7 separate regions of the Homo sapiens genome follow, and all the other regions are linked to region 1. Evidence: promoter capture Hi-C in 16 types of primary human blood cells and fetal thymus (Javierre and others, 2016). All regions are on one chromosome and are shown on one strand. Each heading gives the region's core, a stretch centred on a gene start or on the middle of the fragment in contact. The rest is flanking DNA. Distances are from core to core; before and after follow the strand shown.

Region 1 (3,181 bases), core at 442-2,941:
TTACAACAGCTCAAAATACTTAAATTATGGAATAGTATTCAGTAGAAATTCTCTCACCCTTGTCCCCCATCTATCCAGTTTCCACACTCCCTCCAAAACAAGTAACCACTGTTTTTTTCACTGTTTATTTTGAAATAATATAGACTCACAAGAAATTGCAAAATTAATAAAGAGAATTCCTGATATAACCGCTCCTTAGAGTATGCTTTTCCAGGAAATACATATATAAGTTTGTATAAATGTATCATATTTTCCACTCTGTTTTATTCAAATGGCATCATGTTATACATACGTTTGCACCTTGATGCTAAAGACTGAATATGTCTTGGCAAAATTCATGTGTTGGAGCCCTAAGCCCCAGTACAATGGTATTTGGAGGTTGGGCCTTTGGGAGGTGAACAGGTGATGAGAGTGGAGCCCTCATTAATGAGATTAGTGGCCTTATAAGAAAAAAGATGATAGAGATGATCTGTTTCCACCATCCACTGTGTGAGGTTACAGCAAGAAGGCACCTGTTGGCAAACCAGGAGGGGAGCCCTCACCAGGAGCTGATTTGCCAGCACCTTAATTATGGACTTCTCAACCTCCAGAACTATGATAAATAAATGATAAATAAATTTCTTTCTTTCTTTCTTTCTTTCTTTCTTTCTTTCTTTCTTTCTTTCTTTCTTTTCTTTTCTTTTTCTTCTTCTTCTTCTTTCTTTCTTTTTTTTTTTTTAGAGGAACTTTCACTCTTGTCGCCCAGGCTGGAGTGCAATGGCACAATTTCGGCTCACTGCAACCTCCACCTCCTGGGTGGAGCTATTTTCCTGCCTCAGCCTCCTGAGTAGCTGTGTTTGCAGGCATGTACCACCAGGCCCAACTAATTTTTGTATTTTTAGTAGAGATGGGGTTTCATCATGTTGGCCAGGCTGGTCTCGAACTCCTGACCTCAAGTGATCTGCCCCTCTCAGCCTCCCAAAGTGCCGGGATTATAGGCATGAGCCACCATACCTGGCTGAGAAATAAATTTATATTGTTTAAGCCACCCGGTCCATAGTATTTTTGTTATTTCAGCCATAACTGACTAAGGCACTTTCTAAAACAGACAGACAAACTAACACATAAAAAGCCCTACTGAAGTAATTACATAATCAAGTTGTCACTTTAATTTTTTGTGTCACTTTTCCTGGATCAAAGTTTTTCTCTGATGCAAAACATGATATTCTCTTTACTCCATATATTGGCTCAGGTATCATAAAAAAAAAATCAAAACCCTAGGGCTGTTTTCACAAATATGCCATTTAAAATGCATGGTGCCAAACCTCTTTCCTGAACATTTTCTTCCAGCAGATCTGAGTTGGTGTGTGGAAATCTATTTAAAAAAAACAAAAACAAAAACAAGTTCTTCAGGTGATCTAGCTAGATCTAGCACATGCAAGTTCTTACTCAGATTCTGGCAATTGTTGTCTAAGAATATATCGACAGAGTACATACTTTTAAAAAGTTAATGGACTGGTGTATAACCAAAGCCACAACACCCCACACATGTGACTGTGATCTTTGCTCCTTTGCAAAGTCCTCACAGAGTTGAAGAGTTCTGCACTTTGTTCCTTCCCTGGCACACCTGTGTCTGCATTCCTTCTATCTCCCGGCATTCTCCACTCCTGTCTCTGTGTGTTTAAAAACCGGTGTGGGAAGTGTGCACGCCTGTGACGTCAGACTCCAGACCATGTATTTCCTGACTCCCATCTTGGTAGCCATTCTCTGCATTTTGGTTGTGTGGATCTTTAAAAATGCCGACAGAAGCATGGAGAAAAAGAAGGGGGAGCCTAGAACCAGGGCCGAAGCTCGCCCCTGGGTGGATGAAGACTTAAAAGACAGCAGTGACCTGCACCAAGCAGAAGAAGGTAAAGACACCAGCTATGCTGCTTAGCTTCGCTGTCGTGTTGTGTTGATGATGAGTGTGAGTCAATGGCAGGGCTTATGGAGAGGAAGAAACACACACAGGCCAGCTTCAACATCAACCTCTATTGTGCTAATGAATCAGTGCTTGGCACAGACAGGTCATCTCTCTCCAGTGATGAGCTTGTCACCTGCTGGGACCAACCCTTTTTTATTTTTGATGCCCAGTGAAAAAGCTGTTGAGAGGCTGAAGTTTTCCCTGGCTACAATTCTGTTCTGGTTGTTAAAATCTTTCTGCAGGAATTCATCCCAGGCTGGCAGTGGGCAGGGACTAAGAGGCCAGGTTTTGATCAGGAACTTTGAAATCTACCAAGTGGCATCACCTAGGAGGCTGCTACCTTTCCCTGTGCCAGGCCCTGGAAGTGAAAGCCTGGGATGGCCTCTGTCCTCAACAAACTGAATGTCCAGTTCAGCTGCCAAGATGATACACTAGAATCAGAGAGAGTAACAAAGAGACAGACCCGGTGGAACTGATTCTAAGGTGTTTAGAGTAGGCCTGGGAGTTTGACGGTGCAGTCAGGGAAAGGACAAACCAGGCTGGGAGGATGAATAGGGTACAAATAGCAAGTGCTGGGAGGCCTGTCAGGCAACAAGGAGCCAAAGGAGCAGAAGCACCTGGAGGCCTGGGGCAGGGGTAAGAGAGGAAGTGGAGAATTGAGGGTGGAGGGAGAGGGTAAGAATGGAAGTAGAGAATTGAGGGCGGGAAGGTTATGGCCACCTTGAGAAGAAGAGGTGATGAAGGAGGCAGGTAGGAAGGGAGAGAGCGTGGAGGAAGCTTGAGCCATCTGTGTTTGAGAAGCTTTGTCTGGGATGGGTTCGATTTGGAAGAGGCTCTGTGATCTTCAGCTGGGCTAATGATGCCCCCATCCCCAAACAGAGGCCACCTGGACATGTGAGTGTGTGTGAGTGTATGTGTGTGAGAGTGTGTGTTTATGAATGTGCATGTGTGTGTGCGCGTGCGTGTGTGTGTGTGCATGAGAGTGGATGTGTGTGCGCGTGCATGTGAGTGTTCATTAATGTGCATGTGTGAGTGTGTGTGCATGAGTGTGTGTGCACGAGTGGGTGAGTGTGCGTGTGAGTGTGCACGTGTGTGCATGAGTGTGTGTGAGCATGCATGAGTTTGTGTGTGCATGCATGAATGTGTGTGTGCGTGCGCATGAGTGTGTTTGTGAGAGAGTGTGTGCATGAGTGTGTGTCCTAATCTCAGGACCGGGGCGCAGGGTGTCCAGCTGGCTCT
Region 2 (3,181 bases), core at 375-2,874, 460 kb after region 1:
TGGCCTTTCTCACATCGCCTCCTGTGAATTATCCACATTGTAGCATGATTTGGCCTCAGAGGGTGGTGGTGTGCATGTAACATCGTAACTGCAGAGATAATATTTTAAGAAAGAGTTTTCTCTAAGGTGATCTGAAGTATGAAAAACGCAATCAGTTTTAACCTGTGCTATCTCCAACTTTTCCAGTATATCAGTAATTTTTTAGGAGGAGGAGGAGTGTGTATGATCTTCTGAGGTTTGGAAGCATATAGAATAACATTGTTTCTGGCTTCAGGATCTCAACAAAAATGCCAACTCGTGCTAACAAAAAGAGGGGTTTTTTTGCATACTTTTTTTTTTTTTTTTTTGAGACAGGATCTCACTGTCACCCAGGCTGGAGTACAGTGACACAATCACAGCTCACTGCAGCCTCAGCCTCCCCAGGCTCAAGCAGTCCTCCCACCTCAGCCTCCTGAGGTGGGACCAGAGGCACTAACCACCATGCCCAGCTACTTTTTACATTTTTTGTAGAGAAGGGGTTTCACCATGTTGCCCAGGCTGGTCTCGACTCCTGGGCTCAAGCAATCCTCTTGCCTCAGCCTCCCAAAGGGCTGGGATTACAGGTGTGAGCCACCACGCCAGCCATTGTACTTTCCTTAGTTGCTCGCACTATAAATCAATGGTTTTCTCACATATCTCCATTACTACTCAATTTTTTTTTTTTTTTTTGAGATAGGGTCTGGCTCTGTCACCCAGGCAGGAGTGCAGTAGCATGAACATGGCTTACTGCAGCCTCTGCCTCCTGGGCTCAGGTGATCCTCCCACCTCAGCCTCTCTAGTAGCTGGGACTACAGGTGTGTACCACCACGCCCCGCTAATTTTTTTGTGTGTGTGGTTTTTTTGTAGAGATGGGATTTTACCGTGTTGCCCAGGCTGCTCTCAAACTCCTGGGCTCAAGTGACTCTCCCACCTTGGCCTCCCAAAGTGCTAGGATTACAGGCGTGAGCCGCCACACCTGGCCTACTGCTCAATTTTTTAAAATAGCTGCTGTAATGCATTCAACACTATCTCATTTAGTATTTTCATATATGCTTCTGAGTTTAATGCTTTAGTTAGACTCCTTTGTGGAGCACAACCAAACCAGAATCTTAGGTGTGATATTGTAGGATCAGGACTATGGGAATGAGATGCTCATGGTTAGACTTTTTTTGAAGGCCAAAATTTAACACTGATCTCTGGGGAAGAGCCTAGCTGTGAATAAAGCCCCTGATTGTCATAGAAAGAAAAGTCCAAAGGTAGTGGCTCTTGCCTGAGGAGCTTTTACCTCCAGGCACAGAGAGATTTCTGGCTATAGGCTCAGGAATATGCCTTTCAAATAGTATGCCCTTTTCATCATATTTTAAGAAATCCTGCCCCAGATTTTCTAACCAAGGACCACCTTAGTATCAAATGAGAGGAGTCTATTCTACAATTAAAAGTGAAAGCTGGGTGATGGCTTAGTATCAGGACAGGCTCTGATCATTAGCTTCATTATCAGCACATTGGGACAGGTTGATGCCACTAACTATTAAATGCTGTCTTTGGGATTGACATTGACATCCATGGAAACTGAAGAATAGGAAGGGCATATCCAAATCTTAAATGAATGCACAAGTTACATAACAAGAATCTGTAGGGAACTTTTTTTTTTAAGTTTGAGAGTATTTAAGAATTGTCTAAAGTTTTAATCTTCAGTACAATTTCTTAACAGATAGGGAAACAAAGTGCTGGAATTGATGCCTGAAGGATTTCACAGACTCTGAGTTCTTCTTTTTAATCAAATGAAGGTTTTGTATGCATGTGAGACTAGAATGCATGTATTTTTCTCCTTGCCATGATGCACTATGAGTAATTCAAGTCCCTATTCTGATGCTAGCGTTGCTAAGCTGGTTTGCTGTTACAGGGAAAGTGACTGAGTTCCCGCTGCAGGAGGACAATTTTGGTGGGGTAGGGGAATATATATGGCCTTAGAAACAGTTGTATATTGGCAATTGCAAGCACTGACTAAGTCTGGGTTGGGGCTCCTCAGCATAAGAGGAAATGTAATGCTGAAGTTTTTGATGATGATGGGTTATGCCCACAGACTACCACTGAAAAAGTAGTAATTCCCTGGGCCAGGTTGTTTTGAATATGGACCATCTGTTAAAATACAAAGCTCCAATCTTGACAGAAGCATGTCCTTTGATACTGAATCATTAGGGCCTACGACTACCTCGAGTAGTCTTCTTTTTTACCCACCTTTTTAAGTATTAAATGATTTCACATTGGGGTTTTCTTTTCACTTTTGGTTGGCTCTCCTTTTTGTTTTGCCTGCTGGTGTTGTCTTGGGATGCCCCAGGATCTTTTCTCAGCTTTGCGTCTGGGTCCTTTCTTGACATGGTGGGCTCCTGTCGACGTTCTCCCCAGCAAGGAGGAGGAAATCTCTCCCGAGTCATCTTCTGAGAGTGCTGTCTTCCCTGCCATCTGGCAGAGGCACGTCCCTAGGACCTGATGAGTTATATCCACACCTCGTCCAGCTGGGTGATCGAGACCACTTCCTGTGCCCACTAGGCTTTCCGTCAGTTGACATGATGACTCCTTTTCTCTTTCTTGTTTATCTGGGCACAGGACGTCGTAATCGAATGGACCGATTCTCCAGACTTCTCCGTGTGGGCCTTGCCGCTTTGCCAGGAGCTTGCTCTCGGTGCTGTGCGGAAGGAGGAGCACCTTATTCACCTGCCGAAACTCTCGAGCATCTTTATTGAACTCTCTAGCCGGGGTCTCCAGGCCCTGGGTCAGATTTCTGCCTATAAATCACCCAACCAGGTCCAGTTGCTCCCATATCTTAGAGCCTGTCATAGCATGCTGGCCATCTTGTTCCATCAGACCTTCCTCCTGATAGTCTTTGAGAGCAAGGAGGCCTTTGGGTTTCTGGGTTTTTTGGTGATGTTTCACATGGGAGAAAACTCCATACAGGCTTGAGAAATTTTCCTCCTTGTGTAGAGTAGGGAAGGCACAATTTTATGCTTTTGTCTGCATCTCGAGCAACATCAGAAACATTTATTTTAATCCTCTGTCTGGAGGATTAAAATGTTGTTTGATATTTCCCTTGGCAAACATTATTCTAAATTTTTGTCTGAGATCATAAGAACTCCAATTTTCAAATCTCAAAAAAGGCAATAAA
Region 3 (3,181 bases), core at 443-2,942, 450 kb after region 1:
AACTAGGGTGGTGGGTGGATTATTCACATGGATGGTGAAACAGTCCAAGTTGGGGCTGGGAGGAGTGAGGTGGAGCAGACAATGGGATGATGATCATGAAAATTGAACTGGGTGGAAAATAAGGGCTGAGATTTCTGAGAAAGGGGACAGTCTGTTTTGTTCTCTGTATATTTTGACAAGCATTTGAAGCTTGTTCTCAGGACTGCCAGCAATGATTTGGTCCTCAGGAAATGAATGTGCATAGGTGTGGACTTGGACCTAAGCATGAGTTTTCATTTCGTCAGGGTGTTATGAGATGAAAGGGAGCTCATGCAGAGAGGGGACTGCATTTTCTTTATGATTAGTCATTTTGTTGCTGGCCTGGTGCCTTAGAATGCCCTTCTGAGCAATGGCAGAGTATCTTTGATGGGCCCCACCCATTGTTTACCTGTCTGCTGGGAAAATCAAAATTGCTAACAAGATTCTGAAAGGCAGTTACAAAATGAGACCCCCTTACATACCTGTCTTTCTCCCACGCTAGGCGTGTGTGCCTCAGGAAGTTCCCTTTAAGTATTCAAATGGTTAATATAGTCAATATAACATCGTACTTTCTCCCCAAGTTGTCGATCCTTTCTATCTAAAAACATCTTTTCAGTTACAACTTATTGAGCATACACACTGTGCTGAGTACTTTATATTCTTATTTCACCCTCACCAAAATATGTTATGAGGTAGTTCTTATTCTTCCCATTCTAGAAAAAATAAAAACAGAGGCTGAGAGACATTAAATAAACTGCCCAAGTTTATATAACTAGTACATGACCAAGCCTGGATTGGTCTATCTGGCTCCAAAGAGCATCCTAACCACATTATTCCCACTGGCAATAAAAACACCTTTTTTTGTTTTGTTTTGTTTTGAAACAGCGTCTCACTCTGTCACCCAGGCTGGAGTGCAGTGGTGCAATCTCCATACAAGAAAAAGCACACTGCCACCTCCACCTTCTGGGTTCAAGTATTCTTGTGCCTCAGCCACCCGAGTAGCTGGGACTACAGGCGCACACCACCACACCTGGCTAATTTTTGTATTTTTAGTAGAGATGAGGTTTCACCATGTTGGCCAGGCTGGTCTCGAACTCCCGGCCTCAAGTGATCCACCTGCCTCAGCCTCTCCCAAAGTGCTAGGATTACAGGCACAAGCCACCACACCCAGCCTCAAACACGCTTGTCTAATATACTTTATTCACTATAATGTAATCATAATTTTCTATTTAAGCAGGATTATCATTAAAGTGAACTTTCCACATCTTTCCTCGAGATTATTTCTTATTTTCCTAAAGTTTTCAAAATGTATTTCTATTATTTCTGTGAAATGAATGCATAGTGGGAAATTTTAAACATCAAGAAATGTATCACCAGTCTAATAATGTCAACACAGCTGTGGGAAACTCATTAGTTACAGCCTCCCAGCTGCCTTCCGTTCTTTTAATTCAATGATGGTCCTTGGCTGACACCTAGTGGAAATCCTGGAAACAGTACTTTAAAAATTAAATGTCCAGACAAAAAAAAATTCTTGAAGTCAGCTTTACAGATACCAGGGAACTTCTTGGAAATAGCCATATTGCCCATTAGTATATGTGGTAAATAAATTTAACTCTTCTCCAAATTAATTGAAAATAAAGGTGAAGGTATTTTGCATTTTATATATTAGTATGTTTCTGTAATTGCACTTCCCAGAGAGAGACTGAGCTAACATTTGTGTTTGCAAGTAATTTCAACTCATAATCTCAAACTCTGAATGTATGAGAGAGATAGCTATCAGGTTACAAAAATTGAAGCATTTGTTTTCTCTAAGGTGACTGTGTTGAGGCTCCCCCAAGCCCCACACTTTTTCACTAAACGTGATCGCCACTTAGCCGAAATATTTGTACTGGGATATCACAGATGGTAGCAAAATAGAGTAAAATTATTTTAAAAGTTATTTTTAGCATAGTGTTTTGTAGGTTAAATTATACTACCCTTAAAAAATGAAAATAACTTTAAAGAGGCAAGAAAGGCTACAATCCCCTAGGACAGTGGTCTTCAACCTTTTGGGCACCAGGGATTGGTTTTGTGGAAGATAATTTTTCCACGGATGGAGGCAGGGGGAGGCTTTTGGGATGATGAAAGCACATTACGTTTATTGTGCACTTTATTTCTATTACTACATGGTAATATATAATGAAATCGTTCTACAGCTCACCATAATGTGGAATCAGTGGGAGCCCTGAGCTTGTTCTAGCCCTGAGCAACTAGACAGTCCCATCTGGGGGTGATGGGAGACAGCGACACCCCAAGTGTGTTGCTTATGTCCAGTCTGCTCTCATCTTATTTTGGTCACTGTCACTGCAGAAAACCCTGCTTCACAAAGATAGGATGTTGGAAATGGAAGCAGGCTTTTGTGCTTTTGTGGCAATCTCAGGATATTCGCCTGGACTTTAATCCAGAATGTAAGGAGGTTTGAAGTTGTCTCAAACATACTTTTTTTTTTTTTTTTTTTTTTTTTTTTTTTGAGATGGAGTCTCATTCTGTTGCCTAGGCTGGAGTGCAGTGGTGCTGCAACCTCTGCCTTCCCAGGTTCAAGCAATTCTCCTGCCTCAGCCTCCTGAGTAGCTGGGATGTCAGGCACACACCACCACGCACAGCTAATTTTTGTATTTTTAGTAGAGACGGTTTCACCGTGTTGGTCAGGCTGGTCTTGAACTCCTGACCTCGTGATCTGCCCGCCTCAGCCTCTCAAAGTGCTGAGATCATAGGCGTGAGATACCACGCCCGGCCTCAAACATACTTTTAAGGCCACCAGATGCAGCTGTACAATTGAAGTACATCAACTCACTTGCCACGATAAAGCCTGCCACCAGATGCAGCTTAATTGCTCCTTGACACTCACTGACAGGGTTTTGATATGAATCTGCAAGCAATTGATTTATTATGGTCTCTGTGCAGTCAAACCTCTCTGCTAACGTTAATCTGCTCCTCAGTGCTAGCATCACTGCCTCAGCTCCACTTCAGATCATCAGGCATTAGATTCTCACAAGGAGTGCTGCAACCTAGATCCCTCGCATGCATAATTCACAGTAGGGTTCACACTCCTATGAGTATCTAATGCTGCCACTGATCTGATAGGAGGCAGAGCTCAGGCTGTAATGCGAGCCATGAGGAGCCA
Region 4 (3,181 bases), core at 454-2,953, 420 kb after region 1:
AGCCTTGGATACAATGACAGCAGATCCTCAGTTATCCAATTATATGATTCCTTGTAAATGCCATGGAAATGTTTAAACTTTTAAATTATACAAAATGTACTCACCCAGAAGACTACAATCTAATACTTCCTGGCTGTTATTTTTTTATTAGTGAACTTCTGCAAGATTTGGAAAACTGTGAAAATGATCCTGTGGCCATAGCAGAGTGTTTTGTGTCCAAGGTAAGCAGGGTTCATCCTTCTGGGCCAACTGAGACAGATACAGAGTACAGAATTTTTCATTTTAAAGTTAAAATGACTGGTTTGTTTCATATCAGATAGAGTTAGCCACTAATCTTTCTCTGGTTTCTTTGTTTGAGTAGCAAAAATGTATTGTTCCTGGAGCCAGGGAGATGCTAATCTAGTAGTTGTTCTAGAACTTGTACAGTAACTGAATAATGTTACTCTTTGCTGGGAAAAACTTAAAGCTTGGGAGGGGAGAGTCCGGAGTAGAAGAATGTTAGAAAAATGGGCCGGGCATGGTGGCTCACACCTATAATCCCAGCACTTTGGGAAGCCGAGGTGAGTGGATCATCTGAGGTCAGGAGTTTGAGACCAGCCTGGCCAACATGGTGAAACCCCGTCTCTACTAAAAACACAAAAATTAGCCAGGCGTGGTGGTGTGCCTGTAATCCCAGCTACTAGGGTGGCTGAGGCAGGAGAATCACTTGAGCCCAGGAGGCGGAGGTTGCAGTGGGAGCCAAGATAACGCCATTGCACTCCAGCCTGGGTGACAAGAGTGAGACTCTGTCTCAAAAAAAAAAAAAAAAAAAAAGAAGATGAATGTTAGAAAAATATAAAATACCACTGAACTGGTTTAGTTTAGTGAAAGTTTAGTTTTAGTGAAAGTCCAAGAGAATCTAAATATTTTACGTATAATATATGTGGCACTAGCCTAGTCTCTATAATTATCTTTCTTTTGAGGGATAGAGAGAAGCAGAATTAATCTCCTACATTTTAAAAATGTACTCTTCCACTGTTTTCTTAAGCTGCATCAGTGGTTTCGAAAAATACAAGGAAAGGATTTGACTTTCAAAGCTTAAATGACAGTGAGCTCGTGCTCCGAAGTGGAATAGGTGATGGAATTCTGAAACCTACCCTTTCCTACAATGTGGCCTTTCCTACATTGCTTTCTCAGCATGCTGCCTAGTATATAGAGATTTCTGTCTTGTTTAAATTCTCTTAAACATTCAACCGCTTTTGTTTGGAAAGCCTTTAGCAGAAATTGTTTTGCAGCAAACTTTCATGTGGTTTCTGCATTTGTAGTTTGAAATGCACGAAGGTTTAATAAAAGTTCATGATGGCGCTTTGAGACCCACTGGGAATTAGCACACGCGGAGTCCGGTGTGAACTGGGAGATGTCGCTCCAGTCTGACCTGGCTCTGGACTGTTCCACAGGGTCATTTCTGATGGTGGCAGATGCATCCTGATGGCTTCCAAACACAACACCCTGGGTTTTATTGGAGCAAAGTTCCTTAAAGGCACAATCCATGGGCTTATATGTAAAGGCACAATCCATGGGCTCTCCTGACTTTGTGTGTGTGTGTTCACATGTAAAGTGTGCACACACGTTTACCTGTGTGTAAGCTTACACATACAATCCTTTTCACAAGTTGCCTGTGTCAAAATTGAGCAGGGATTTGAAAAAAAGAAGAAAAATGAAAGAAGGCAAAATGGCTAAAAAGATATGCTGGGTATATCAAAGGAGATATGTTAGAATAACCACAGCACATAAACAACGTAGAAGCTTTCGGAAACGTTTGGGCTTTTACTGGTAACTGTAATCACAAGTTGATTAAAGATGTTCCAGCGTATGCTTAGCTCTCGCTTAATTATTCACATAAAAGTTTGTTTATGTGCCACGTTGCCAACTCCCAAATCTTCCTTTTCATTGTAATATTGCCAAGTTTAATTAGAAGACTGACTTGAGCTCTCTGCACTTTCGCATGGAAACAGGGAATCCTGAGGGAGTGCTGGGCTCAGGCACTGCCTGCCTTTCACTCAGCAGCCTGACATTTAGAAGATGTTACGTCTTCTGAAACACAACCAGCTGTTCAACTCTAGGGAGGAATGGAAAATTGCTTTAATTGGGAGGCCGTTAATGAAAGAGGTGAAGCTGACAGTTGACTTCTGCTTTTATCTGAACCACTGGGGCCTGCACAGAGATTCATCTTTGACCTTGCTTACTGTCGTGGTATGTGTAGGTTACAGAAGTCCTTATCGACAGATGGAGAACATGGTTGCTTTTTACCTGATGCTCATGGAAGAATGAACCCACAGTTCTCCTGAAGGACAGAAATTAAAGTTTCGTGCTGGGCAGGCCAAACCTTCTCCCAGTAAACATTTGTCTGTTTTAGGTCTCTGGAAACACCTAGAATGGCTCACTTTGCTGCCTTTACCTCCACCTTCACATCCACCTCTCATCTTGACTGGCAGCAAGGCTGACCCAGGGCAACGTTTAGGAGGGAGACAAAGTCTGTCTTTAGAGCCTCAACCTCCCCTTAGCTGCCTACTCTCCCTCGTTGTGTGGCTCTCTCTCTGTTGGTGCCTTCTTCCTTTTAGAGCCCAGGGAGTGAGTGTGTGTGCACACACACACGCATACACACACACACATGCACACACACAAGCATGCACATGTACCACCCACTTACTGAAATTATCCTCAAGGAAGTGTGGATATTGGATAGTCATATGATTAGAGTGAATTTAAGTCAAAGTTACCCGTATGCTGTTTACATATTAAGTCTTTCTTGTAGTGTCCAGTGAAAACTTCTCAGGAATCAGAGAGGGAGAGGAGGACCCTGGGGCAGAAGAAACCCTAAAATCATACATATTGCTTTACTGTGGCTACCTATTCAATAAATATTTGAGAGACTTAGGTGCTTGATTGGTCAGCACTGATTATATCATATTTTGGCTCTTTCATAATTAAATGTCTCATTTCTATGTCATCTCTGATTACAATTTGAAAGATTTGAAGAACTAGAAGGAAATATCTTTTCTTATGATTTATATATATTTGTATAACACATTCCCTTAAATCCTTCTAAGCCGATTTGGGGTGGCATATTTAATAACTAATGGTATCTAACTAGGAGCTGTTGACTTTTATGTGAAACCATCATTTGTAAGGTCCACAGAGC
Region 5 (3,181 bases), core at 445-2,944, 390 kb after region 1:
TGGCGAAACCCTGTCTCTACAAAAAAATACAAAAATTAGCTAGGCATGATGGTGCCTTCCTGTAGTCCAAGCTACTTGGGAGGCTGAGGTGGGAGGATGGCTTGAGCCCGGGAGGTGGAGGCTGCAGTGAGCTGTGATTATGTCACTGCACTTTAGCCTGGGCAACAGAGCCAGAGCCTGTCTCAAAAAAATAAAATTTTTATGAAAGATTCTTTGTTTTGTTAAACTAATATAAATTAATTCCTAATGACCAACACCCCTCACCCCCACCCCCGTAAAGTAGACCACTTTAAAAATGGAGAGAGTCTGCTGTTTCAAATGGCAGGATCTCGCTGGGGCAGAATCACCCCTGAAGGACATTGTGGGGTGGGTGTGTGTGTGTTGGGAGAGGCAGGGGGAGCCATCCCTTTATACTTTAAAATATTTTCTTTTGAAAAAAGCCTTTATCTCTTTGGATCCACAAGAAATGTTACAAGTGTCCCTTCAGTTTCATAATGGGGCTTACGGTGATGCCCTTAACCTTTCAGAAAGCCCGAAGTGGGTGCCTCGTAAGGAGGGGACCTGCCGAGCTGGCCGCCCAGCAGCTGCCGACCATAAATACACAACTGCTGAAAAGACTGCTGCTTTTGTCTGATTTTCCATAAAGCAGTGGATAAATTACTCAACCCAGGGGTCTGTTTATGGCCTCGTAAATGCTGTTCCAAATGCAAATGCACAGAGAGAAAAGGGTGAGAGTTAATCTACTTTTGATTAGAGAAGCGTTTCTTGTGCAAAGCGGGAGTGAGGTGGGTGGGAAGAGAGTTAAAAACGAAATGCATAGTTTAGGGACCTTTGTCATCTTCAAGAGGTGGTGTTGTAAAAAAATGCTGCCCCTGCGACAAAGGCTGGGAGCAAGGGAGGAATGTTGGGCTGGGTCAAGATTCTGTACAGCCCTCGCCTCTTAGCTAGAGAGGGAGCAGCGGGGGCACCGTTAACCCTTGCCTTCCTGTGCTCTGCACATTGCTCATTTCTGGGAATTCACTCCATGAGGTTGCAGAGTCTACACTCATTAGGTGCTGGGAACACTAAAGCACAGTGCCTACTAACTGTTGATACCAGTTTCAGGGAGAGAAGGAATGACAAAGATATTTTTATAGCACTACATGATGATGACCCTGTGCTTAAAGACTTAGAATACCTGACCCAGACAGGGGACAGGAAGGGTCAGAGGAGGATTCCTGGGAAGAATCTTGAAGGATGAATGAGCCAGGTGGTGATGAGCAGGACAGCCAATACTGGCAGTGAGAAAAGAATAGACAATAATAAAACGACATGAGAGGGCAGGGAACAGGGACATTCCTGAAAGAGCAGTGAGTGAGTGCCTGTGTTGGTAGAGGTGAGGGAGTTGAGGGGGAGCAAGACAGTGGTCAAAGATGAGCCCAGGAAGGTCGGGAGGGATTTAAGAGTCCTTGAAGGATTTTACCCAGGAGGCATGACATCAAATTTGCGTTTTAGAAAATCATGTTAGATAGGTTTGAAAAGTTGTGGGGAATCAGACCCACAGTAGAGAGCTGGGTTAGGATGTCCTTGCAGTAGTCCAGGTGAGAGATGAGAACAAGGTCAAGGCAGCGATGAGAGAGAGGACAAGTCAGTTTCAAAAAAGATATAGGTGGGAGAGGAGAGGCGGGATTTGTTGTTTGGGTGGTCACAGCAAGAGGGCAAGGGTCTTGGAAACTTTTAGATGGCATTAGGACTTTCTTTCTTTTTTTTTTTTTTTTGAGATCGAGTTTCACTGTCATTGCCCAGGCTGGAGGGCAATGGCACAATCTTGGCTCACCGCAACCTCTGCCTCCAGGGTTCAAGCAGTTCTCCTGCCTCAGCCTCCAATGTAGCTGGGATTACAGGCATGCACCACCACACCCGGCTAATTTTTTGTATTATTAGTAGAGACAGGATTTCTCTGTGCTGGTCGGGCTAGTCTCAAACTCCCGACCTCAGGTGATCCACCTGCCTTGGCCTCCCAAAGTGCTGAGATTACAGGCATGAGCCACTGTGCCTGGCCGGCATCAGGACTTTTTGTTTTTTTGAGATAGGATCTCGCTCTGTTACCCAGGCTGTAGTCCTGTGGCGTGATCATACCTCGCTGCAGCCTTGATCTCCTGGGCTCAAGCAACCCTCCCGCCCTAGTTTCCCAAGTAGCTGGGACTACAGATACATGGCACCACGCCTGGCTAGTTTTTTAATTTTTTTGTGGAGACAGGTCTCACTTTGTTGCCCAGACTGGCTTTGAACTCCTGGCCTCAAACAATCCTTCCGCCTAGGCCTCCCAAAGTGCTAGGACTATAGGCATGAGCCACCGCGCCTGGCCGGCATCCAGGACTTTTTATGCACAGGTCTCCCCTGACAATAATCTTCAGACTCTCTGCCAACGTTGATGGTTAGTAATAAGCTGCTTAAGTAAATTAGCCTTCCTACGGCACTGGTATTGCCAGTGGCAGAGAATGGTGGGGGGATAATTCTTTATTATGATTTATCAGCATATAGAGTTCATTTACTTTTGAACCCAAAAAGGCTCCAATCTGACCTACCTTGCTGCTCTGGGAAGGAACCTGGGACCTAGACGGCCACACAGCAGGCACCAACACCTGCACATGTGTGCTGAGCTGCCTTGAATGGACCATGTGTGCAGTTTAACCCCTGGAATGATGAGGAGACACTGGTGGTTGTATTCTTTCTGCTTCACGCTGAAGCTACGGAGCCTCAGCAAGGAAGTAACTCGCCCAGGGCCTGAGTCCTAGACCCAGACTGCCTGACCTTGAGGCCGATGTGTTTCCCACCTCGCTACATCGGGAGCCAGCCCTGCGGCTGAGGCCTTCATGTTGCATCCGGCAGTGCCTTACCCTGTCCTCAGATAAATCCGTCCTGGGAAAGCAAATTTACTTTCCCAGGACAGTAAATTTAATGTTTTTATTAAAGATTTAATTTTTAATTTAAAAAAATTTATTTTTTTCCATCTTGTGGTAGATAGAAGCTGCATTTACTACAAGAAAAAGCAGAGGGCACTTCTGTTCAGATTATAAAATTGCTGCTGTGGAAATTCATATCTCTTGAAAAATCACTTATGGAAACCTCGTCCGTAAGAGTCCACTCTCTTAGGTTAAAGAGGGAAGAAAATTTTCCCCACATCACCTTTTTCACCCTG
Region 6 (3,181 bases), core at 368-2,867, 340 kb before region 1:
GCCTCAGAGCTGCCCATTACTGGTGGGCTCCTCGCCCTCTAGGTCATTAGGAAGATAGGCCCAGCAGTGAGAAGATGCAGGTGGTTCTTCTGGGATGGGCAGGAGCAGGGCCACCGGGAACCAAGAAGTTGCACAAGCAGTTGGACCTGATCCCCAGGACACCACGTGGCTGCACCCACTCACCCTCAGCTCACACCTGAGGCTTCAGGGAGGGTACCTGATGGTCCCCATGGATGCCACTCAGCACAAAGGAGGGGAGAATAAGCCCCCAACTATGGGACCCCCACTCCCATCACATCCACACCACCCAGAAGCCACAGGCAAGGTAGGGCCACCTTCTACTTTCCAACTGACATCAGAGACATCACTTGGAGATGACACCCTAGGGGATGGGGCACTGGGACACTGTAATCCCCTGATCTGGGATCAGCAACCTAGGACAGGGTCCAAATCTGGTCCCCCCTCTTTGAAGGTTGCCATTGCCTGCTGTTGCTCTACAAAGGGACAGGACTGGACACAGAGACGGAGAACCCATGGCCTGCAAAGATCACAGGGCATCCTTCCTCCCTTTCTAGAAAGGGTTTGCTGACCCCTGTCTACACAGTGACTATTCTCTATGACGCTGACACCCCCGTAGGAAGAACAGGCGGTCTGGGCCCCAAGGGCAGAAGTGGGTGCCTCTACTCACCAGAGTTCCCAGGGTCATCCTGGAGGAAATGGTGCTTCCCATCCCCCCTGCACAGGTTCTGAGGGGAGCTTGGGGTGTGTTTGTTGGGGTGTGTCCTCAGGCAAGAGGCAGAAGGTGCGACGTGGTGTAGGAGGTGGTGAGGTACCCTTCATGGATGGGGAGACCTCAGGGGTGACCAGCTGGGCTGAGGTGGGCAGTAAGAGGATGTGACCTGGGTGGTGGCAGTGGATGGTGAGGGGAGGGGTGGCGGGTATCTGCTGAGCCCCTGGGTGCAGGTGAGTGTCTACAGGAAAAGTGCGGGGAAAACAAAGGCAGGGAGTCCTGGGGGTGCTGGAGGGTTTGTGTGGTAGAGAGCAGGTGAGAGCAGAGCAGGCTTGTGGCTGGTGGGGGCGTCTGTGATTGTATCCCTGTGGTACCCCCCTTCACCCAGTCCTGACCCCAGCTCTGTTCCCGGGGGGGCTCTGGTTTCTCCTTCCGAAAGGCGGGTGGGACTGCCGGGCTGCACTAGGAATCCGGGCCCCACCTAGCCCTCGCAGCCCTCTGGCCCCTCCACCCTCCTGCCAGCCTCGTTTTCACCCTGCTCTTTTTCGCCCCTACTGGGGCAAGAACAGCCTTGGGGAGTGGACCCGGCGGGAAGGAGCCCAGGAGGGGAACTGAGCTGGGGGCGCAGTTCGGGGAGATCTCCCTTGTCCTTCCAGAAGCCTTCCCTCCTCTGAAACCCGCTGCAGTCCACAGTCCCTCAGGTTTGGCCCCCGCCCCGCTTAGGCTCCATCCACCAGCTCACCGTCTCGCCTAGCCCGGGACCAGCCGAACAGCAGGAACAGAAGCGGGAGGCACAGAAGCAAAGCTGGGATGGCGGCTGCTGCCATTGGGGACCAGGAGGGCTGGGGACAAGAGATTTAATCAAGGTGGATCCTGGAAGATGAAATCACCTCTGTGCTGAAAGGCTGGCTTATATACTGTTAGTTACTGGGGAATGTACCGGGGAATGAGTCACCTCGATTCTGAAAAGCCAGATTTTAATGCTACTGGGCGTAGTCACTGGGCGCGTTCCACCTCTTCGTTTCATTGTCTGGACGAAATCCAGTTTCCATGCTAGTGTCCCTTCCCTTCTTCACCCGCTCCGGCAGCTTGGTGGCCTCGTGCCCGGGCCCCACTCCTGCCAGGACACGATTCCTTCCACGACAGACTCATTTAATCATTATAGCATTTTTTATTAATGGTGAAGAAACGTGCAGAGGAATATTCAGCGGCCTCGGCGTCTCCTTGTCCCCGCCTGGGTCCGCGGCACTCTCCCTCCTTCCGCTTGCGCCGCGGGGTCCCTGGCTCACCCCGCCCTGGGCACAGCCATGGGCCTGTTCGCGTCCCCTCCACTACTTCCCCAGTCCCCGGTGGGCGTGGTTACAGTCCGGGCTGGGTTTTATTTTTTATTTCTTTATCTATTTATGTATTTGGAGATGGGGTTTCTCTCTTATTGCACAGGCTGGAGTGCAACGGCCCGATGTCGGCTCGCCGCAGCCTTGTCTCCTGGGTTCAAGCGATTCTCTTGCCTCAGCTTCTGGAGTAGCTGGGATTACGGGTGCCCACCACCAAGCCCGGCGAATTGTTTGTAGTTTTGGTAGAGATGGGGTTTCACCTTGTTGGCCAGGCTGGTCTCAAACTCCTTTCCTCAGGTGATCCACCCACCTCGGCCTCCCAAAGTGCTGGGATTACAGGCATGAGTCAGCGTGCCCGGCCTGGGCTAGGTTTTATTACAGAAACAGCAGGTAGGGTTTCAGAGGTTCAAAACAACATATTGTATAGTAAACAATTGGTGAAGATGGTAAATTCTATGTTCTATGTTTTTACCAAAATTAAGCAGCTTTAAAAATTATCTTAACAATTTATGTCTTGCTTCTGCTTCACCCAGTGCAGACTGGCCAAAAGGCTGCTCATTAAAATCGAGGACAGCATTGAGGACCTCATCCCTAGAATCTCAACCTGTGACACGCTTGCTGATTTAGAAAGCTCCTCAGAGAGATTACCTCTGAGCTCCCAGTTCAGCAGCCGCCCTGGCCCAGGTCCACCGATGGCACAGGGGGCTCAGCAGAGCAGGTTCAACTGAAAGTTCCTAGTGGTTCCCAACTGTCAGCGCATTCTGCTGGCCTCTTCCCCCTGGGCAAAGAGCCAGCCATCCTTCAAAGCCGGGCACAAATACCCCCTCCCATGTGTGTCCTGCATGTTCCCACAATACAGAACACCCTCCTGCTCCCTGAGACCTGGGTTCACAGTGGGTGCATCCAGATCTCCCTGTGTGACAATTGCTCACACATTTCTTTGCCTCTCTGCTAGAAGCATGAGGTCTTTGAGAATATACTACATCCCTTCCTAAAAAGACCTAGTGAACAACTTGCTCAATCATGTAATCAATTGTGTTTCCACGAAGAGCAGGAGCCGAGGGAGGAGTCTACACACGTGTGGGGTTCACTTTCCAGCACACCAATCCGTGGCCAA
Region 7 (3,181 bases), core at 192-2,691, 310 kb before region 1:
CAGCTCCTCACCAGGTCTCCAGCTCCATGACCCTCACACTAGAACAGCAGCACCAACTCGTCCCCGGTTCTCCAGTTCCATAACACTAAAATTTAAACAGCAACACCAGCTCCTCCTTGGGTCTCCAGCTCCATGACTCTCAAACTAAAACAATAATGCTCATTTCTGGGTCTCCACTCCATGCACCTCACACTACAACAGCACCAGCTCCTCCCCAGGTCTCCAGCTCCACAATCCTCAAACTAGAACAACACCAGGTCCTCCCTGGTTCTCCAGCTCTATGATCCTCAAACTAGAACAACACTTCTCCTCCCTGGGTCTGTAGCTCCACAACCCTCAAACAAGGGCAACACAGCTCCTCCCAGGATCTCCAGCTCCACAACGTTCGAATTAGTACAACACAAGCTCCTCCTCGAGTCTTCAGCTCCACGACTCTATAACTGGAACAACACCAGCTCCTCCTTGGGTCTCCAGCTCCATGACCCTAAAACTAAAAAAACAATGGCTCCTCCTTGGGTCTCTAGCTCCATGACCTTAAAACAAGAACAATACCACTCATCCCCAGGTCTCCAGGTCCACGACCTGAAAACTAGAACAACACCGGCTCCTCCCTGAGTTTCCAGCTCCACGATCCTTAAACTAGAACAACAGCGCTCCTCCCTAGGTCTGCAGCTTCACGACCCTCAAACTAAAAAAACAGCGACTGCTCCCCGGGTCTCCAGCTCCACGACTCCCAAATTAGAACGAAACTGGCTCCTCCCCAGGTCTCCAGCTTCACGACACTCAAACCAGAACAACAGTACCAGCTCCTCCCCGGGTCTCCGGCTCCACGACCCTCAAACTAGAACAACACCGGCTCCTCCTCGGATCTCCAGCTCCATGACCCTCAAAGAAGATCAACACCGGCTCCTCCCCAGGTTTCCAGCTCCATGTCCCTCAAACTAGAACAACAGCACCAGCTCCTCCCCAGGCCTCCAGCTCCAGGACCCTCAGACTTGAACAGCAGCATCAGCTCCTCCCTAGATCTTCAGCTCCACAACCCTCAAACTAAAACAGCATCACCAGCTCCTCCCTGGGTCTCCAGCTCTATGACCCTCAAACTACAACGGGAGCACAAGCTCCTCCCTGGAGCCCCAGTTCAATGACTCTCAGACCTGAAAGGCAGCAACACTCTTCCCCAAGGCTCCAGCTCCATTACCCTCAGATTTGAACAGCAGTAGCATCAGCTCCTCCCTGGGTCTCCAGCTCCTCAACCCTCAAACTAGAACAGCAGCACCAGCTCCATCCGGATCTCCAGATCTATTACCCTAATACATGAGTGGGTTCTTTCCCGGTGCTCCAGTTCCATGATACTCAAACTAGAACAGCAGCACCAGCTCCTCCCTGAGTCTTCAGCTCCACGACCCTCAAACTAGGAGAACACCAGCTCCTCCCCAGGTCCCCAGCTCCATGACCCTCATGAACAATCCCTTCTTATGAAATTCAGCAGTCAAGAAAACTGCAGAGGAAGTAAATGAATAAATGTTTTGCTTTCAGATTGATATTTCTTTTATGTTCACACAAGTCAGGAAACTTTTCTGCTTTCCCCAACCTTGCAATCTACTTGTGTTCAAATATAAGATAGAAATCCACCATTTGAAATGACCTTTAAAAACTTAGTAATATTTTTTAATATGATCTTATGTCACAGCTGTAGAAATGATCTTATTTCTCTCTGCCTGTGCAGAAGTCTTATGAACATTCAAACTATGAATTTAGTTTGTTGAGATTCCCAGAATACGCATTATCCCCAAATATTACTGCCCTCCTTAAAATCTTCTAACACGTTCCCATCACTCGAGCATAAATGCCAGCTCCCATCCACAGCCCACAGTGCCCAGCACGGCCCTGCTCTCTTTCCTGCCAGAAAGGCCTCTGTCAGTTCTTCAAACCACACAGGCTCAGGCCCGACTCCGGGCCTCTGCCTCTGCTGTGCCCTCTGCGTGGGGTGCCTTTCCCCGGCTCCCCATCCTCCTCTCAACCTGCTCAGTTCCAGCCTGCAGAGCACCCCTCAGGTCGATGAACACACGACATCCTCCCCACATAGGCCTTTGCACACGCTATTCTCTCTGCCTGAAACACTTCCCTCTCTCATCGTCTGGGTTCACTTTTCTAATTACCATTTATCTTTGGAGTCTCCACTGAAATATCACTCCCTGCCTGCCCCCATCACTTGGACTTAACCTTGGTTAGGTTGCCAACCCCTGTCTCCTGACTCCAGGAAGCTAGATGCGATTCTAGCTCTTGGAACTTTCCCATTGCAGTGTTTTGCACACTCGTAATTATTCTATCAGGTTGGTGCAAAGTCATCACAGTTTTTGCCATTACTTTTAATGAACTGCAGCACCGGCTCCTCCCTGCTTTTTATTGCCATTACTTTTAATGGCAAAAACCGAGATTACTGCTGCACCAACGTAATAGAATAATTTATATTTATTCATCCATCATCTGTCTTCCCCTCTAGAAAGTAATCTCTATGAGAATAGGGAGCAAATCTACTCAAATCACTCCACCTTTCTAGCACATTGTCAATAATTATTTACTGACTGACTGATACAGAAATATCTTCATTGTTGCTGGGATGACCCACATAACGTGACAGGCCCCTTTGAAGTTCAATGTCACAGACAGTTAGCATTTGCTTTTCTCTCCCGGACCTTTGGTTTGGCTGGGCTTAGGCTGATCTATTCTGGGCTTGACTTTAGGCTGAGGGTTGGAACCGTGCGAGCTCCACATGTCCTTTTTGCTCAGGATTGTTTTGACAGCTTGAACTTTTTTTTTTCCTTTTGGTTCCAAATAAATTTTAGAATAGATTGTTTTAATTCTGTGAAAAACAATATTGGTATTTTGATAGTGATACCTTTGCATCTATACATTGTTTTGGGAAGTATGGCCATTTTAGCTATATTGATTCTTCCAACCCATGAGCATGAAATATTTTTTTCCCTTCATTTGTGTTGTGTCTGATTTTTTTTTTTTTTTAAGCAGTGTTTTGTAGTTCTCCTGTAAAGATCTTTTATCTCTTCAGGTAGATGAACTACTAGGCTGGGGTCCCCACTAGCCTGATGCCTCACAGGGGGCGCCCGGCTGCCGCGGATGTCCCACCGGGAGGGACTGGCCCCGGGCGGGTCACCGCGGGCAG

Evidence for each region. Contacts are between HindIII fragments. The CHiCAGO score rates a contact against its expected background, and 5 or more counts as called.
Region 2: a contact is called between a fragment that was not itself captured here and the fragment with the promoter of IYD in region 1, in 8 of 17 cell types (naive B cells, total B cells, M1 macrophages and 5 more). The highest score is 10.6, in naive B cells.
Region 3: a contact is called between a fragment that was not itself captured here and the fragment with the promoter of IYD in region 1, in 4 of 17 cell types (naive B cells, total B cells, naive CD8 T cells and 1 more). The highest score is 5.9, in naive B cells.
Region 4: a fragment that was not itself captured here is called in contact with the fragment with the promoter of IYD in region 1 in 1 of 17 cell types (total B cells); the score reaches 6.5 in total B cells.
Region 5: a contact is called between a fragment that was not itself captured here and the fragment with the promoter of IYD in region 1, in 1 of 17 cell types (naive B cells). The highest score is 5.1, in naive B cells.
Region 6: the fragment with the promoter of RAET1L here is called in contact with the fragment with the promoter of IYD in region 1 in 3 of 17 cell types (M2 macrophages, M0 macrophages and naive B cells); the score reaches 6.6 in M2 macrophages.
Region 7: a fragment that was not itself captured here is called in contact with the fragment with the promoter of IYD in region 1 in 1 of 17 cell types (erythroblasts); the score reaches 5.4 in erythroblasts.

What each region holds. Positions count from the first base shown.
Region 1 is chr6:150,367,321-150,370,501 of GRCh38, forward strand. IYD (iodotyrosine deiodinase) reads left to right here and starts at 1,692. Exons shown (of 5, transcript NM_203395.3): 1 at 1,692-1,889. The coding sequence starts at 1,712. The HindIII fragment of the contact is 5,505 bases long and covers 1-2,717 here.
Region 2 is chr6:150,832,353-150,835,533 of GRCh38, forward strand. The region is part of intron 16 of PLEKHG1 (pleckstrin homology and RhoGEF domain containing G1); the gene reads left to right. Among named protein-coding and RNA genes, the nearest start is that of MTHFD1L, 32 kb to the right of the region's middle. The HindIII fragment of the contact is 3,331 bases long and covers 1-3,181 here.
Region 3 is chr6:150,813,831-150,817,011 of GRCh38, forward strand. All of the region lies in intron 11 of PLEKHG1 (pleckstrin homology and RhoGEF domain containing G1), which reads left to right. Among named protein-coding and RNA genes, the nearest start is that of MTHFD1L, 50 kb to the right of the region's middle. RefSeq lists an enhancer at 1-19. The HindIII fragment of the contact is 3,010 bases long and covers 188-3,181 here.
Region 4 is chr6:150,786,239-150,789,419 of GRCh38, forward strand. It overlaps PLEKHG1 (pleckstrin homology and RhoGEF domain containing G1), which reads left to right. Exons shown (of 17, transcript NM_001029884.3): 5 at 152-221. Among named protein-coding and RNA genes, the nearest start is that of MTHFD1L, 78 kb to the right of the region's middle. The HindIII fragment of the contact is 160 bases long and covers 1,624-1,783 here.
Region 5 is chr6:150,752,929-150,756,109 of GRCh38, forward strand. All of the region lies in intron 3 of PLEKHG1 (pleckstrin homology and RhoGEF domain containing G1), which reads left to right. Among named protein-coding and RNA genes, the nearest start is that of MTHFD1L, 110 kb to the right of the region's middle. RefSeq lists an enhancer at 133-634. The HindIII fragment of the contact is 5,969 bases long and covers 1-3,181 here.
Region 6 is chr6:150,023,915-150,027,095 of GRCh38, forward strand. RAET1L (retinoic acid early transcript 1L) reads right to left here and starts at 1,618. Exons shown (of 5, transcript NM_130900.3): 1 at 1,473-1,618. The coding sequence starts at 1,557. The HindIII fragment of the contact is 10,027 bases long and covers 1-3,181 here.
Region 7 is chr6:150,054,405-150,057,585 of GRCh38, forward strand. No RefSeq gene overlaps it. Among named protein-coding and RNA genes, the nearest start is that of ULBP3, 13 kb to the right of the region's middle. The HindIII fragment of the contact is 7,426 bases long and covers 1-3,181 here.